4 separate regions of the Homo sapiens genome follow, and all the other regions are linked to region 4. Evidence: promoter capture Hi-C in 16 types of primary human blood cells and fetal thymus (Javierre and others, 2016). All regions are on one chromosome and are shown on one strand. The core of a region is centred on a gene start or on the middle of the fragment in contact, and the rest is flanking DNA. Distances in the headings are between cores, read along the strand shown.

Evidence for each region. The method cuts DNA at HindIII sites, captures the fragments that hold promoters and counts their contacts. A CHiCAGO score of 5 or more calls a contact.
Region 1: a fragment that was not itself captured here is called in contact with the fragment with the promoter of SLC4A4 in region 4 in 1 of 17 cell types (M2 macrophages); the score reaches 5.6 in M2 macrophages.
Region 2: a contact is called between the fragment with the promoter of UTP3 here and the fragment with the promoter of SLC4A4 in region 4, in 2 of 17 cell types (fetal thymus and erythroblasts). The highest score is 8.0, in fetal thymus.
Region 3: a contact is called between the fragment with the promoter of GRSF1 here and the fragment with the promoter of SLC4A4 in region 4, in 2 of 17 cell types (fetal thymus and total B cells). The highest score is 9.1, in fetal thymus.

What each region holds. Positions count from the first base shown.
Region 1 is chr4:71,691,797-71,695,244 of GRCh38, forward strand. No RefSeq gene overlaps it. Among named protein-coding and RNA genes, the nearest start is that of GC, 91 kb to the right of the region's middle. The HindIII fragment of the contact is 360 bases long and covers 1,423-1,782 here.
Region 2 is chr4:70,686,912-70,690,338 of GRCh38, forward strand. It overlaps UTP3 (UTP3 small subunit processome component), which reads left to right and starts at 1,621. Exons shown (of 1, transcript NM_020368.3): 1 at 1,621-3,427. The coding sequence starts at 1,767. The coding sequence ends at 3,206. RefSeq lists enhancers at 546-1,516, 897-986, 1,517-2,485, 1,687-1,746. The HindIII fragment of the contact is 6,672 bases long and covers 1-3,195 here.
Region 3 is chr4:70,838,035-70,841,252 of GRCh38, forward strand. GRSF1 (G-rich RNA sequence binding factor 1) reads right to left here and starts at 1,856. Exons shown (of 10, transcript NM_002092.4): 1 at 1,437-1,856. The coding sequence starts at 1,793. LOC124900710 (a long non-coding RNA gene) reads left to right here and starts at 958. Exons shown (of 3, transcript XR_007058131.1): 1 at 958-1,111. RefSeq lists enhancers at 559-1,213, 1,214-1,867 and silencers at 1,264-1,813, 1,874-2,123. The HindIII fragment of the contact is 9,073 bases long and covers 399-3,218 here.
Region 4 is chr4:71,185,831-71,188,929 of GRCh38, forward strand. It overlaps SLC4A4 (solute carrier family 4 member 4), which reads left to right and starts at 1,429. Exons shown (of 26, transcript NM_001098484.3): 1 at 1,429-1,571. It overlaps LOC124900712 (a long non-coding RNA gene), which reads right to left and starts at 694. Exons shown (of 2, transcript XR_007058133.1): 1 at 1-694. The HindIII fragment of the contact is 10,115 bases long and covers 1-3,099 here.

The sequences.
Region 1 (3,448 bases), core at 353-2,852, 510 kb after region 4:
TTAAGTGGTGCTGATAAAACTCATGGTCAGTGCGAATAGGAAAGTCGCTGTGTTCTTTCTTTGTTTTGGGTCTATGCCTACGTTTCATTCTCAGCTAAACCCCATGCCAATCCTTCTCCCATACTCATGCTTACTAGACAGAGTCAGTAACAGTTCTGACAAATCCAAGTGCTATTATTTCTTTCTGACATTACACAACATCTTTCCTTTAAAGTACAGGACCACCTTGCATTGGCTATTGAGCTGTATTAACTATCTTCTAAACCTTTAGCTAACTGTTCTTTTATTATTTTATAAAGTTGTATAAATGCTGGTCACTCTGGCTCTTTTCCAGTATAAATGAATTCTATTTGTGCTATCTGTAAAACTTTCCCTCAGGGTCCTCCAAGAAGCAGATACCAGGATGAGATTAAACATATAAACTCTATTAGGGGAACATGCCTGTGTGAAGGAAATAGGAGAACCACCTGACCACTATGCACGTCTAACCCAGAATGAAAGAGAGAGAGACAGAGAGAGAGAGAGAGACAGACAGACAGAGAGAGTGTGAGTGAATGTTGGGTGGAGTGCCACACAGTTTTGGCAAAGCCACCAGGAAATCCTCAATACAAAGTTGGTCAAAAAAAAGTCCAGTGTTTCTCTGGAATGGGATCTGCCTTAGTATCAGTGCTACAGTCAGTCACTGGCTGGAGCAGCCTGTGAGAGGAGTAGCCTTGAAGCAAACCCTGGTACAGATTTCCAAGCTGGAGCCCTTGGTCCATTATGCTCTCTGGAATAAGACGTGAGCAAAACACATGCCTTGTACAATTCCTGCTTAAGTTATCATGGTTAGAAAAGAAAATGAAAGATAAAAGATGGGATGGCTAGAAAATAAAATATCTGAACAATACCTGGAAGACTTTCTTCTATTAGTCAGAATTGTCCCCACTTACTGCCTCAATGCTAATTCGAATTCTCTTCTATCAAATGTTTCCATGGCTGCAGATTTAGGGCTAGAAACTTTCTTCTTGTCACCTCTCTGGGCTTTTGTAAGTCCCCTCTATCTGCTTCTAGTTGTTTACTTCCAGAATATGCCAAGGAGAAACATTTTCTTTTGCATTCCATTTGCCAGCTTGTTATGTATTTATGTATAGTTTTGGATTCTTTGAAAAGGTCTGATAAATAATACACTGCATCCACATTCAGTTTCAGAATAAGTGAAGAACAGAAAGAAAAGGGTCAGTATATACAGGCCTCAAAAATGACCTTAATTACTAATAAAACTAGATAATTTGACTTTGTCTCTGTATAAGTTGGCCCCTGACGCTGTATCTAGAATTTGAAGGGCATCTATTCAGCTTCATTTGCACTAGAATAGGGCAGGAGTTTCCTGCTCCAAGTGTAGATTCTTCCCAAGCTGCAGAGGGTAGCATGTTTCCTGGAAGCTTCCATTCACAGTTACTCTCCCAAATTCACTGATCAGATTAAGTCTTTCTATGTATCTGGAACTAAATGAGAGGGGGAGGCAGAGAGAGGCCAGGAGTATTAAATTCACAGAAGGAAAGATCAATGGTGGGGAAGAGGCCTGACAGATAAAATACCAAAATGACACGTGTCAGGGATACACAGGCTTGGAAGCCAATTATTCTGTACTTTACAGTTGTTCTCCGATGATTTCCAGAATTCTGAGTTCAACTAATAGTTACATTTGTACACTACCTTCTCTTTGGATTCTTGAAAAATGTTTTTTCCCCACTTTTAGCTGAGAATTTTGGGTGAAAATCTTTTTGGAGAACTCAGGAAAGCTTTGGATTCTCCCTTACCAAAAAATGTATGCAGACTCAATTTTTTTTTTTTTTTTTTTTGCTTTAGTGACTAAAAACCAGAATGGATTTATTTATTGATTCAAAACTCCAGCTCTCTTTTCTATACTATTTTCATTTTGCATGCACACACACACTCACACACACACACTGGACTTGAGCTTCTGAAAGCCCTTTCTTTCAATTCTGTTTTTCTTTAGTCACTTGAGTCAAGCCAAAATTACTATAATCCTGACTTTTGAACTTGGAGAGCTTATGTGAAATGGTCCATAAACTCATTCTAAGAAAAGATTACTTAATGCCATTTCTGTATTACCGTGGAATTAAATCCCCTTTCTCAAACCCACTTCTACATTATCTTTCTTAGGTCAAAATCTCAAATTGAATTTTATGGATTTGGGGAAAGAATTTTAGTGATTGAGCCATGCTATACTGTGAAGTAGTACAATTAAAGTAGTATTGGGTGAGAACTTTGGCAATGGAGTAAAACAGAGCTGTACTTAAATCCTAGCTCTATGACCTTATAAAAATTACAAGGTCAATTTTACAAAAAACCTCAGATCTGTCTGAGATTTACATTCCCCATAAAATAAGGACAATAATAGTACTTTCGTCACAGGGCTATGGTGAGGATGAAAGGAGATGATGTATTTAAAGCATTTAGTATAGTGCCTGGCACATAATGAACTGGTGATAAAAATCAGTGATTCTTGCTGTTACTATTATTTTTACTCAACTTGCATTAACAGCATTTACTGCAATAGCTGACATGGAATTAATGCCTAAGAAATATTTACTAAATGAAGACTAGGGCAAATTTAGTCACCTTGGTCTTCTCATACCCAAGAGTAGTAGACCTTATCATATTGTATGCCACTGTATGATGGAAATCAAAATGGACTTAGCACCCTTTAGTTCTTCTGTGACCAGCAGAACCTGTCTGAAAACATAATAAGTAATGTAGTATCTCCAGCTATTATCCTCTTAGGAAAATATTTGTCAAATTTATATTTATTCAGAATTTTTTCTCTAGGATAATCAAAATGTTTCTACTTAGCGAACATACTCACCAAGAGCTCCATGACAGAGATGTTTCTCAGTCTGTCTATTTAAACAGACTCTTTTCAAAAATTGGTGCAATTCTTTAGAATAAAAAATCAGACTAAGTTAAAATTATAGACAGGTACAAATAACCTATCCCAAACCATTTGTTCTTTTTGTCTTTTTACAAATATACATAGATAGGCAGGCATATGGATAGATACAGATATTGATGTTTTGAGATTAACTTTTGCTATTCCATAGATTCTAGATAGTTTTCACCAAACCCCTCACTTCAGTGCCTCACCAGAAGTTTTCATATCAGGAAATACGGGTTATACAAGTGATTGTTTTATAAAAAGAGCTTCATTGCTTTAGTGTCCTCTCTCACACGATTTCTCTCATCTGTCTTGCTGGGCAGATAGAATCTTACGAGGATGTCAGCTTGCCAAATAATTAAGATTCTTTTCAGTAATATAGGACTCAAATCAAAAACATTCCTGGAGACCAGTACATTTACAAATATTATTGCTTATACAGATGTGTGGTGGAATGGAATAAAATGTTAGGTATGACAACAACGAATTATAGAAATATGAGGCTGC
Region 2 (3,427 bases), core at 371-2,870, 500 kb before region 4:
ATTTCAAAGTATCACTTTTCTAACATTTTGCATTATTTTTATTAACCTAATGACACTATACTTTCTGAAAAGAAATTGTCACCATTGGCTGGGCGCGGTGACTCACGCCTGTAATCAATCCCAGCACTTTGGGAGGCCGAGGCGGGCGTATCACGAGGTCAGGAGATGGAGACCATCCTGGCCAACATGATGAAACCCCGTCTCTACTAAAAATACAAAAATTAGCTGGGAGTGGTGGCGCGTGCCTGTAATGCCAGCTACTCGGGAGGCTGAGGGAGGAGAATCACTTGAACCAGGGGGTCGGAGGTTGCAGTGGGCCGAGATTGCCACTGCACTCCAGCCTGGCAACAGAGCGAGCCTCCGTCTCAAAAAAAAAAAAAGAAAAAAAGAAAAAGAAAAAAGAAACAAAAAACAAAAGAAAAAGAAATTGTCACCATTAATTTTATTTTATTTATTTATTTATTTATTTTGAGACAGAGTCTCTGTCTGTCGCCCAGGCTAGAGTGCAGTGGTGCGATATCGGCTTACTGCCACCTCCGCCTCCCGGGTTCAAGTGATTCTCCTGCCTCAACCTCCCGAGTAGCTGGGATTACAGGTACCCGCCACCACGCCCCGCTAATTTTTTGTATTTGTAGTAGAGACTGGGTTTCCCCATGTTGGCCAGGCTGGTTTTGCACTCCTGACCTCAAGTGATCCACCCACTTCGGCCTCCCAAAGTGCTTAGGATTATGGGCATGAGCCACCGCGCCCAGCCATGTCACCATTAATTTTAGCAACGTATCAAAAGTTCAGCTTCCAACTACCTACATTAAAAGGTATAATAATACTAACCCTGAACCTTACATATGTAATGCCTAAAAACTTACACCCTGAATTACTCTAACATTACAGGGCAGACTTCCTTGAGAAGAGTCAGACCCTGCAGCGGGGCTCTGCCTTCCCACTGTCAGCCTCGGGGTCATCTAGCTTTATCGATCCCCATGGAGCGGGTCACCGAGCCCTGTGAGCAGGGAGAGGGCGATGGGGATGAGTAAACCCGAGCCGGAGGCCCGGCCTGCGCTCTCGCCCGGAAACCTCCCGTGGGATTCTGGAGTCCAGCGGCGCTGCCTGAGGCTGTGGTACCCAGAAATATGGTATTGGGGGTGGGGGTGAAATGAGAGGAAAGCAATCTGATTAACTTCCAGCCTGATAAGCAGAAAAGAGAAAACAAGGGAGCAGGAAAACTACGCTAGCACTAGACTGCCGGTCGCAAGCGCCGGGTACACACGCAGTTAAACCTCAATGGAACGCCCCCGGGACTTCTCCGGGGCGTAAAGCGCAGCGCCCTCTATTGGCCATCGGGACCTCGCCTGGAGGTGCCGTCAGGATTCCGTCCCCCAGCCACTCCCAGGCACTCGAGAGTAAGCGCATTAGCCCGAGAAAGCGTTCTGTGGAACGGAACTTCCTTATCCTATCGTTTCCACACGGAAAGATTTTAATTCACCGGAATCGACTGGCGTTAAAGGGCACAGTGAAAAGGAAGTTGGTATCAACGTGATCTCGACTAAGGGACCGAGCGGAAGTCCTCAATCGTACGCCACGCGGAGAGCATGCTGGGGGCCGGAAGGAAGAGGAAATTCCAGTAGCCGATCAGGAGTCTGCAAACTCCGGTGGTAGGGGAGCGCGCTGCTGTTTAGAGCCACGAGTTACCGGAGCGCCTGATTCCTGCGCCGAAGTCAGTGGTGGCCGAAAGTCCGGAGTCGCTGTAAAACCTGAGATTGTGAGCCATGGTGGGGAGATCCCGGCGGCGCGGAGCAGCTAAGTGGGCAGCTGTGCGAGCCAAGGCAGGTCCCACGCTCACCGACGAAAATGGAGATGATTTAGGATTGCCACCCTCACCAGGGGACACCAGCTACTACCAAGATCAGGTAGATGACTTTCATGAGGCACGATCCCGGGCCGCCTTAGCTAAGGGCTGGAATGAAGTACAGAGTGGAGACGAGGAGGATGGCGAGGAGGAGGAGGAGGAGGTGCTAGCCCTAGATATGGACGATGAGGACGACGAAGATGGAGGGAATGCGGGGGAGGAGGAGGAGGAGGAGAATGCCGATGATGATGGTGGGAGCTCCGTGCAAAGTGAAGCTGAGGCCTCTGTGGATCCCAGTTTGTCGTGGGGTCAGAGGAAAAAACTTTACTATGACACGGACTATGGTTCCAAGTCCCGAGGCCGGCAGAGTCAACAGGAGGCAGAGGAGGAGGAAAGAGAGGAGGAGGAGGAGGCACAGATCATTCAGCGGCGCCTAGCCCAAGCGCTGCAAGAGGATGATTTTGGTGTCGCCTGGGTTGAGGCCTTTGCAAAACCAGTGCCTCAGGTAGATGAGGCTGAGACACGGGTCGTGAAGGATTTGGCTAAAGTTTCAGTGAAAGAGAAGCTGAAAATGTTGCGAAAGGAATCACCAGAACTCTTGGAGCTGATAGAAGACCTGAAAGTCAAGTTGACAGAGGTTAAGGATGAGCTGGAGCCATTGTTAGAGTTGGTGGAACAAGGGATCATTCCACCCGGAAAAGGAAGCCAATACTTGAGGACCAAGTACAACCTCTACTTGAATTATTGCTCGAACATCAGTTTTTATTTGATCCTGAAAGCTAGGAGAGTCCCAGCACATGGACATCCTGTCATAGAAAGGCTTGTTACCTACCGAAATTTGATCAACAAGCTGTCCGTTGTGGATCAGAAGCTGTCCTCAGAAATTCGTCATCTGTTGACACTTAAGGATGATGCTGTAAAGAAAGAACTGATTCCAAAAGCAAAATCCACCAAGCCCAAACCAAAGTCTGTTTCAAAGACTTCTGCTGCTGCCTGTGCTGTTACAGATCTTTCTGATGATTCTGATTTTGATGAAAAAGCAAAACTGAAGTACTATAAAGAAATAGAAGACAGGCAAAAGCTAAAGAGAAAGAAAGAAGAAAATAGCACTGAAGAACAGGCTCTTGAAGATCAAAATGCAAAGAGAGCTATTACCTATCAAATTGCTAAAAATAGGGGACTTACTCCTAGGAGAAAGAAGATTGATCGCAATCCCAGAGTGAAACACAGAGAGAAGTTCAGAAGAGCCAAAATTAGAAGAAGAGGCCAGGTTCGTGAAGTTCGTAAAGAAGAGCAACGTTATAGTGGTGAATTATCTGGCATTCGTGCAGGAGTTAAAAAGAGCATTAAGCTTAAATGAAGTTTTTGCTTAGCATAAGGTTTTTGGCAGTTTTGGATCAATAAATTTTTACTTTTAACTAAAGTCATTGTATTAATATATAATACTTTAAATTTTAAAAATTCTTGTCCACAAGGAAATTTGTCTGGGTTATTGGACAATTTATAAGAACTATGGGAGCAATATGAAGGTGCTTGAGAAAAGAGATGATGTTGAAGTTTTCCAATATTCTGTTGAAGTTT
Region 3 (3,218 bases), core at 606-3,105, 350 kb before region 4:
CGGTGAAACCCCGTCTCTACTAAAAATACAAAAAATTAGCTGGGCGCAGTGGCGGGCGCCTGTAGTCCCAGCTACTCGGGAGGCTGAAGCAGGAGAATGGCGTGAACCCGGAAGGCGGAGCTTGCAGTGAGCCGAGATCATTCCACTGCACTCCAGCCTGGGCGACAGAGCGAGACTCGGTCTCCAAAAAAAAAAAAAAAAAAAGGCTTAATGTTTAGTTTTAAGGAATAAATGTAAGCAGTGTCTAACACATAGTAGATGCTCTACAGATATCACCGCAGTCAATTTCATAGAAAAAAAAAGAGAGAAGCTAGCTCACAAAGGTTTACTGGAGATGGTTTTGTTGTGGTTTTTGTAGACAACTTTCCCCATTTTTCCATAATTCCATAAGCATCACAAGCTTTTACAGAAAAAGGCAGCGTAAAGTATTGGGCCAGGATTCAAATCAATTAGCTCAGCCACTGGCAGACAGCAGCCATGCTGATTAGCCTCCCAGTCTCCCTAAGTTAAAGGAGAAGCACAAATTGAATTAAGATAAATATGACCTAAGGAATCAGGGGCTGGGTAGTTAAAAAGTGTGCAGACACTTCCCAGATGCCACGTACCAAGAAGAGAAAGGTTCATCTACAAAGCACAAAATATTTGCAATCTAACTACACACCGACTTTTCTAAAAAAATAAAGAAAAAATGGAAAGGAAAACATTGCAAATTCATTCCTGGGACCCCAAGTTGTGTCCTCAACCCTCAACGCTCCCTCCCATTCACCCCCTCCCCCCAACAGCTAAATCTCCAAACTGCTTTCCCAGACGAGGCGACACACAGTCCTTAAAGACCTTCTGTATGAGTGGAGTTGCAGAGGTGACCTTCAGTAAACCGGGACAGCTCGTCTTTCCCTGGGGACAGGAGAGGGAACGGCGCGATGGGGACAGGCTCCTTCCCTACAAGCCAGCCCACGCAACTGTGTGCGCGCACCTTCCCAGCAGCGGCCGACCGAGAGGCGCCGAGGGCCGCCCAGGCCTAGCGCTCGGGCTGCACGGAAACTCCCAACCCTCCGGCGGGCTCGGGCCTCGCAACTTCACAACCAGCCGGCGGAAAGCAAGAAGATGCGAGGTGGGGGCGTCAGCAGCCTCACGAAACCTACCATGGGCCAGGCGGGGAACAAGGCCTCAACATTCACCCCAGCCACACTTACACTGCCCAACCGACCAGAGACTCGAGGCGAGAACAAAACAAGCAGAAGACCCGACGCCTGGGAGAGCTTCCCTTGTTCCAGGGCCCAATAGGAGCACAGGGTGGACGGGGGCGGGTGTGCGGCGAGTGTCGCGGATCCCCGGGCGTGCCCGCGAGGCGCACACGGAGGGACGGAGGGGCGCGGGGGCGCGTGCACGCGGCCCGGGAGGGATCTCGCGCCAGGTCCCTCACGGCGCCCACGTACCTGGCTGTAGCTGCGCGTCGGGACGGCGGCCGCCGCCGCCAGCGACTGCGGCAGCAGAGAGGCACGGAGGGCAGAGTAGGACGCGGCGGCCGCGGCCGCGGCAGAGGTGGCCACAGCGGGAGGCCCCGCCAGCCTCCCGGGAGGCACAGGCCCGGTCTGGAGGCCACGCGTCTGGGAGGCAGCGGCCGCGGCGGCCCCGAGCAGCAGCAGCAGGCGGCGGCGGCCCGAGACGCCCGACGGGATAGAGCCAGCGGCGGAGTAGAAGGGCAGGCAGGCGGCGCCGGTGCGCCGGCAGCTGCTGCAGTTACAGCCGCAGCCCCGGAGCAGCGCCCCGAGTACCCAGCGCGTGCCGGCCATGGACTCCGGAGGCGGCGCAGGGCCTGAAGGCAGCTGCTCCAGCAGCGATGGTGGAACGGAAGTGGAATCCAGGGCCGGTTGGGGGTGGGGTGTGCCTGGCACATGCGCCGCGGGCACTGGGTGGGGGGCCTCCGAGAGTCGGAAGGAGGTGGAGGAGAGCGCGACGCTCCGCCCAGTCTCCGCCCTTGGGCGGGGCTGCCCATGGTTTGGGCGGGGCTGCCCATGGTTTGGGCGGGGCTGCCCATGGTTTGGGCGGGGCTGCCCATGGTTTGGGCGGGGCTGCCCATGGTTTGGGCGGGGCTGCCCATGGTTTGGGCGGGGCTGCCCATGGTTTGGGCGGGGCTGCCCATGGTTTGGGCGGGGCTGCCCATGGTTTGGGCGGGGCTGCCCATGGTTTGGGCGGGGCTGCCCATGGTTTGGGCGGGGCCCGGGGAAGTGGGTGCAATCGAACTGCTCTTTTTTCAGGCGGTGGAAACTGAGGCCCAAAGTAAGTGAGGCTAGGGGCCTGGCGCAGTGACTCATTCGTAGTGACTCATTCTTGTAATCCTAGCACTTTGGCAGGCAGAGGCGGGTGGACTGCCTGAGGTCAGGAGTTCGAGACCAACCTAGGCAACACGGTGAAATCCCGTCTCTACTAAAATACAAAAAATTAGGTCGGACGCGGTGGCTCCCGCCTGTAATCCCAGCACTTTAGTAGGCCGAGGTAGGGCGGATCACCTGAGGTCAGCAGTTCAAGACCAGCCTGGCCAACATGGTGAAACTGTGTCTCTACTAAAAACACAAAAATTAGCCGGGTGTGGTGACGGGTGCCCGTAATCCCAGCTACTCAGGAGGCTGAGGCAGGAGAATCGCTTGAACCCAGGAGGCGGAGGTTGCAGTGAGCCAAGATCGTGCCACCGCACTGCAGCCTGGGCGACAGAGTGAGACGCCATCTCCAAACAAACAAACAAAAAAATTAGGTTAGGGCCATCCTGCTCTGGGTAGGGCCGAGAGCTGTAGCACAAGTCTGTGCTGCCCTGCGCTGTGCCACCGAAACCCGTGGTGTGAGTGGCTAAAGAACCCTTTCTGAAAGGAATTGTGATACCTTGGTTATAAAAAAATCGTTGGGATAATATCAGAGATTTGGTACCCCCCGAATTTGAGGTATGTGAGGAAGGAGAACTTCGTTGTTTTAAAATGAAATATAGGCCTGGCGTGGTGGCTCATGCCTATAATCCCAGCGCTTTGGGAGGCTGAAGTGAGAGGATCACTGGAGCCCAAGAGTTCCAGACCAGCCTGGGCAACATAGGGAGACCCCGTCTATACAAAAAATAAATAAAGCTGGGTGTGATGGCGTGGGCCTGTAGTCCCAGCTACTTGGGAGGCCGATTGCTTCAGCCCAGAAGGTAGAGGCTGTGGTAAGCTATGATTGCCACCACTGAACTC
Region 4 (3,099 bases), core at 179-2,678:
GGGACCAGGAGCAGTTGGTATGTTAAATTATTTCTCTTGAGCTTTATGCATTTTGGTGGCTACTGTTGAAAACACAGTTTGGTCAGTGATGTCCACATACACATTACATATAATATGTATTACTAGAAAATGATATACACTTGCATGATATACCATGTGGTTGCAATCCATTAAGTGACTACTCTCTAGCAGTACCCAGAACAATAGATGGTGTGTCTGTGCTGACAGTCTGTTCATATCTTAATGGTTTACTTATGATTCAATAGTTTACCAATGGCAATGGTGCTGGATCACTGATATATTATTTGCTTGGCAAAGAGTACTTGAACCTCATTATTAGACTTAGGAACAGAATAAATACAAATAATCACTTTGCTAAGGCTGTTTTCCTAACTCCCAAGGAAGACAGAAAGGCATCAGTGACATAAGTGAAGGACACAGTTGACAACCACGTTATCTTCAGACATCTTTTGTTAAAGGTGAACAATTACTTAATACTGTGTTATGGCAGCACTCTATACGCCCCAAGTTTTATAAAGTAGAGTCAAGAGTGATCTGAGCTGGGAAACTCACGCAATTTTAGTTCTGCATGAAAGCACAGGCTCTCCCCACTGGGGAACTCTTTTGAGTAGGACAAAAAGCTGGACCTAGGACCCAGCCCAGGGCGTGAGAGAAAAGGAACCTGGGAGGCAAGAGCGGCCGGTCCGGAGCCGGGTCCTCCGCCAGCTCCGGGCGGGCGCTGCGCACAGAGCCCAAGCCCCCGGCGGAGGCGGCGCGGCTCGAGGCCCCTCCCCGCCGCCGATGCCCGGGCGGCTGACGCCGAGCAGCGGCCCGGAGCGGTGGGGGCCGGGCTGGCGGGCACGAGCGAGGGCAGGGCAGGGGGCCGGCCGAGGCCACTTACGGCTTTAAATATGGATCGCAGGCTCGCGCTCGCGGCACAGCCTCCGCCGCGGCCGCCTTCCGTGAGCCCCCGCACCCCGGCTTGCTCCCGAGGGGCGCCTGGGCTGGGCTCCACTGCTGCAGTGTTAGTTACTAGCAGGAACATCAGAGATCCCCATAAATATGCAGGAGCTGCAGGAGGCAAAGTAGAGTAGACGCCCGCGCTCTTACACACTCGCTCGCCGCGCACCACACAGGCTGTGTAGACATCCCCCCGCGCCACCTTTCCCCTTTCCTCGCGGGCCGTTCAGGTTGCAGTCCTGCCTGCTCCGAAGACCCTCCCGCCCCAGCGCCTTTGCCCCGCTCTCCCGCGCTCGCCTCTCTCCGGAGCGCGCACCCACCCAGGCGGCAAAGTTGTGACTACTTGGGCGCGGGTGACTGGCGCCCCGCTCGCTCCGCGCCCGGCGCAGACAACTTCCCGCGGCTCGGCCCCGCCGCGTCCCGGGCTCGCGCCTCCAGGGATTCCGCGGCCCCCCAGCCTCCAACCCCGGCGGCGCGCCGGGCAGCGCTTCGGTGGCGGCGGCGGCCGCGGTGGCAGCGAAGGCGGCGGCGGCGGCGGCAGTGGCAGTGGCCGCTGCAGCCCCACACTCCGCCGCCAAACTGGAGGAGCGACGGAAGCCAGACCCCAGGAGGTGAGCGCCCGGCCCCGGCAGCTGCCGGGAGGGTCGATGGGGTCCCTCGCTCCAAGGCGGAGGCGGGCGCGGGCCCGGGGGCCGATTCCGTAGGGCGCGCAGGCGGCCTCAGCGCGCTCCTGGGAGGGAGAGAGAGGTCAATTGCGGGCCGGGCATCCCCTGAGCTGGGCGCGGGCGGTGTGTGGAGGCTGCTTCCGCGGAAAAGTATTTTTTTTCCTTCTTAGGGTTTAGAGGAAGAGTTTGGGTGGTCTGCTTCTCCCTCACTGCTAAGTCCCCTGCGCGCAACTGGGCGTCTTTACGAGGACTGCGGGGCCAGTTCTGCGGCGGGCTGGGCTCGGGCTCAGTGACACGTGTGTTGCTGTGAGCCTGGGTGGTCGCCCTGTGACCAGGCACCTGCTTGAGAGGAACACATCCCTAAACCCATCACAGGGGGAGATTTGGGGACTCTTGGTGCTACCGAGGCCGCGGCCCCCACTTCACTGCCAGCTCCAGGACGGAGCATTTACATCTCTCCCTGGCACGCCAAAGGCGGGGGGTGAGTCAGGCAGATTCTCTGCAAGTGGCACACACACATTTATTTGCAATGGATTTGGCTAGGGGAGGCATAGGTTAAACTGGAATTTCTCTTGGCCAGCGACAACGGAGCTCTCCCTCAGGTACTGGGCAGCATGTGAGTCTTGGCAAAGAGAGGTGATTTCTTTTTTCTTAAGTGCATTTTACTCAGCCGTTGCCAGTCCGTTAATAAGTCACCAGAGGAAGGCAGGACCTGGGAACTACATCAGCAAACCGCAGCAAGCACCATAAAGACAAAAGTTCTTATAGAACAAAAAGAAAAACTTGAACTTGACGTGAAAGATGGAGGAAGCAGTTCTACCTCTCTTCTATCACTTTTTTCAGCGCCCTGTAAAACTGTTTTTTTCTATCCTTCCTTCCCTCTCAAGGCCCTACCTTCTCAGCATAATTGATCGCAGCAAGCTCTTTCCAACTTGACACTGAAGAGCAGCGACCCCTTTGGCTTACCCTCCCCATTTCTTTTCCTGGTTCGCTTCAGTGCCCTGGAAAGTTGCTCCTAATGAGAAATCAAGAACACTGGGCTGTACTAAACGCTCATTGTCTCAAATCCTGCAGCAGTTCCTTTCCTAAGAGACACTGTGTTGTACTGTATTTCTCTTTTTTCTTGTATCTTGGGACTTGGAGTTGTAATACTACCTGAATTAAATTAATTAAAGTGTACATTGCTCATTTGGGCTTTTTTTTTTCATTGTGATTTCAGTAGATTCGTCAATGCCATTAGAACAATATTCAGTAGCTTTTTATAGCCAATGTGATGTCTTTTGAAAACGTTTCTGACTACAGCTCTCTTTCTTGTGTCTTTCATATTAGCATGTAAATAATTTACATGGTCATTTTAGTACTTAGACTGAAGATATTAGTATAACTTCATTCAAAGGAAGTGTGCCTGTTTATTTTTCTATAACTTTTATAGCTGAGAAAAAACTTTTACTTTCATTTTAAAGTTAAAAGTACT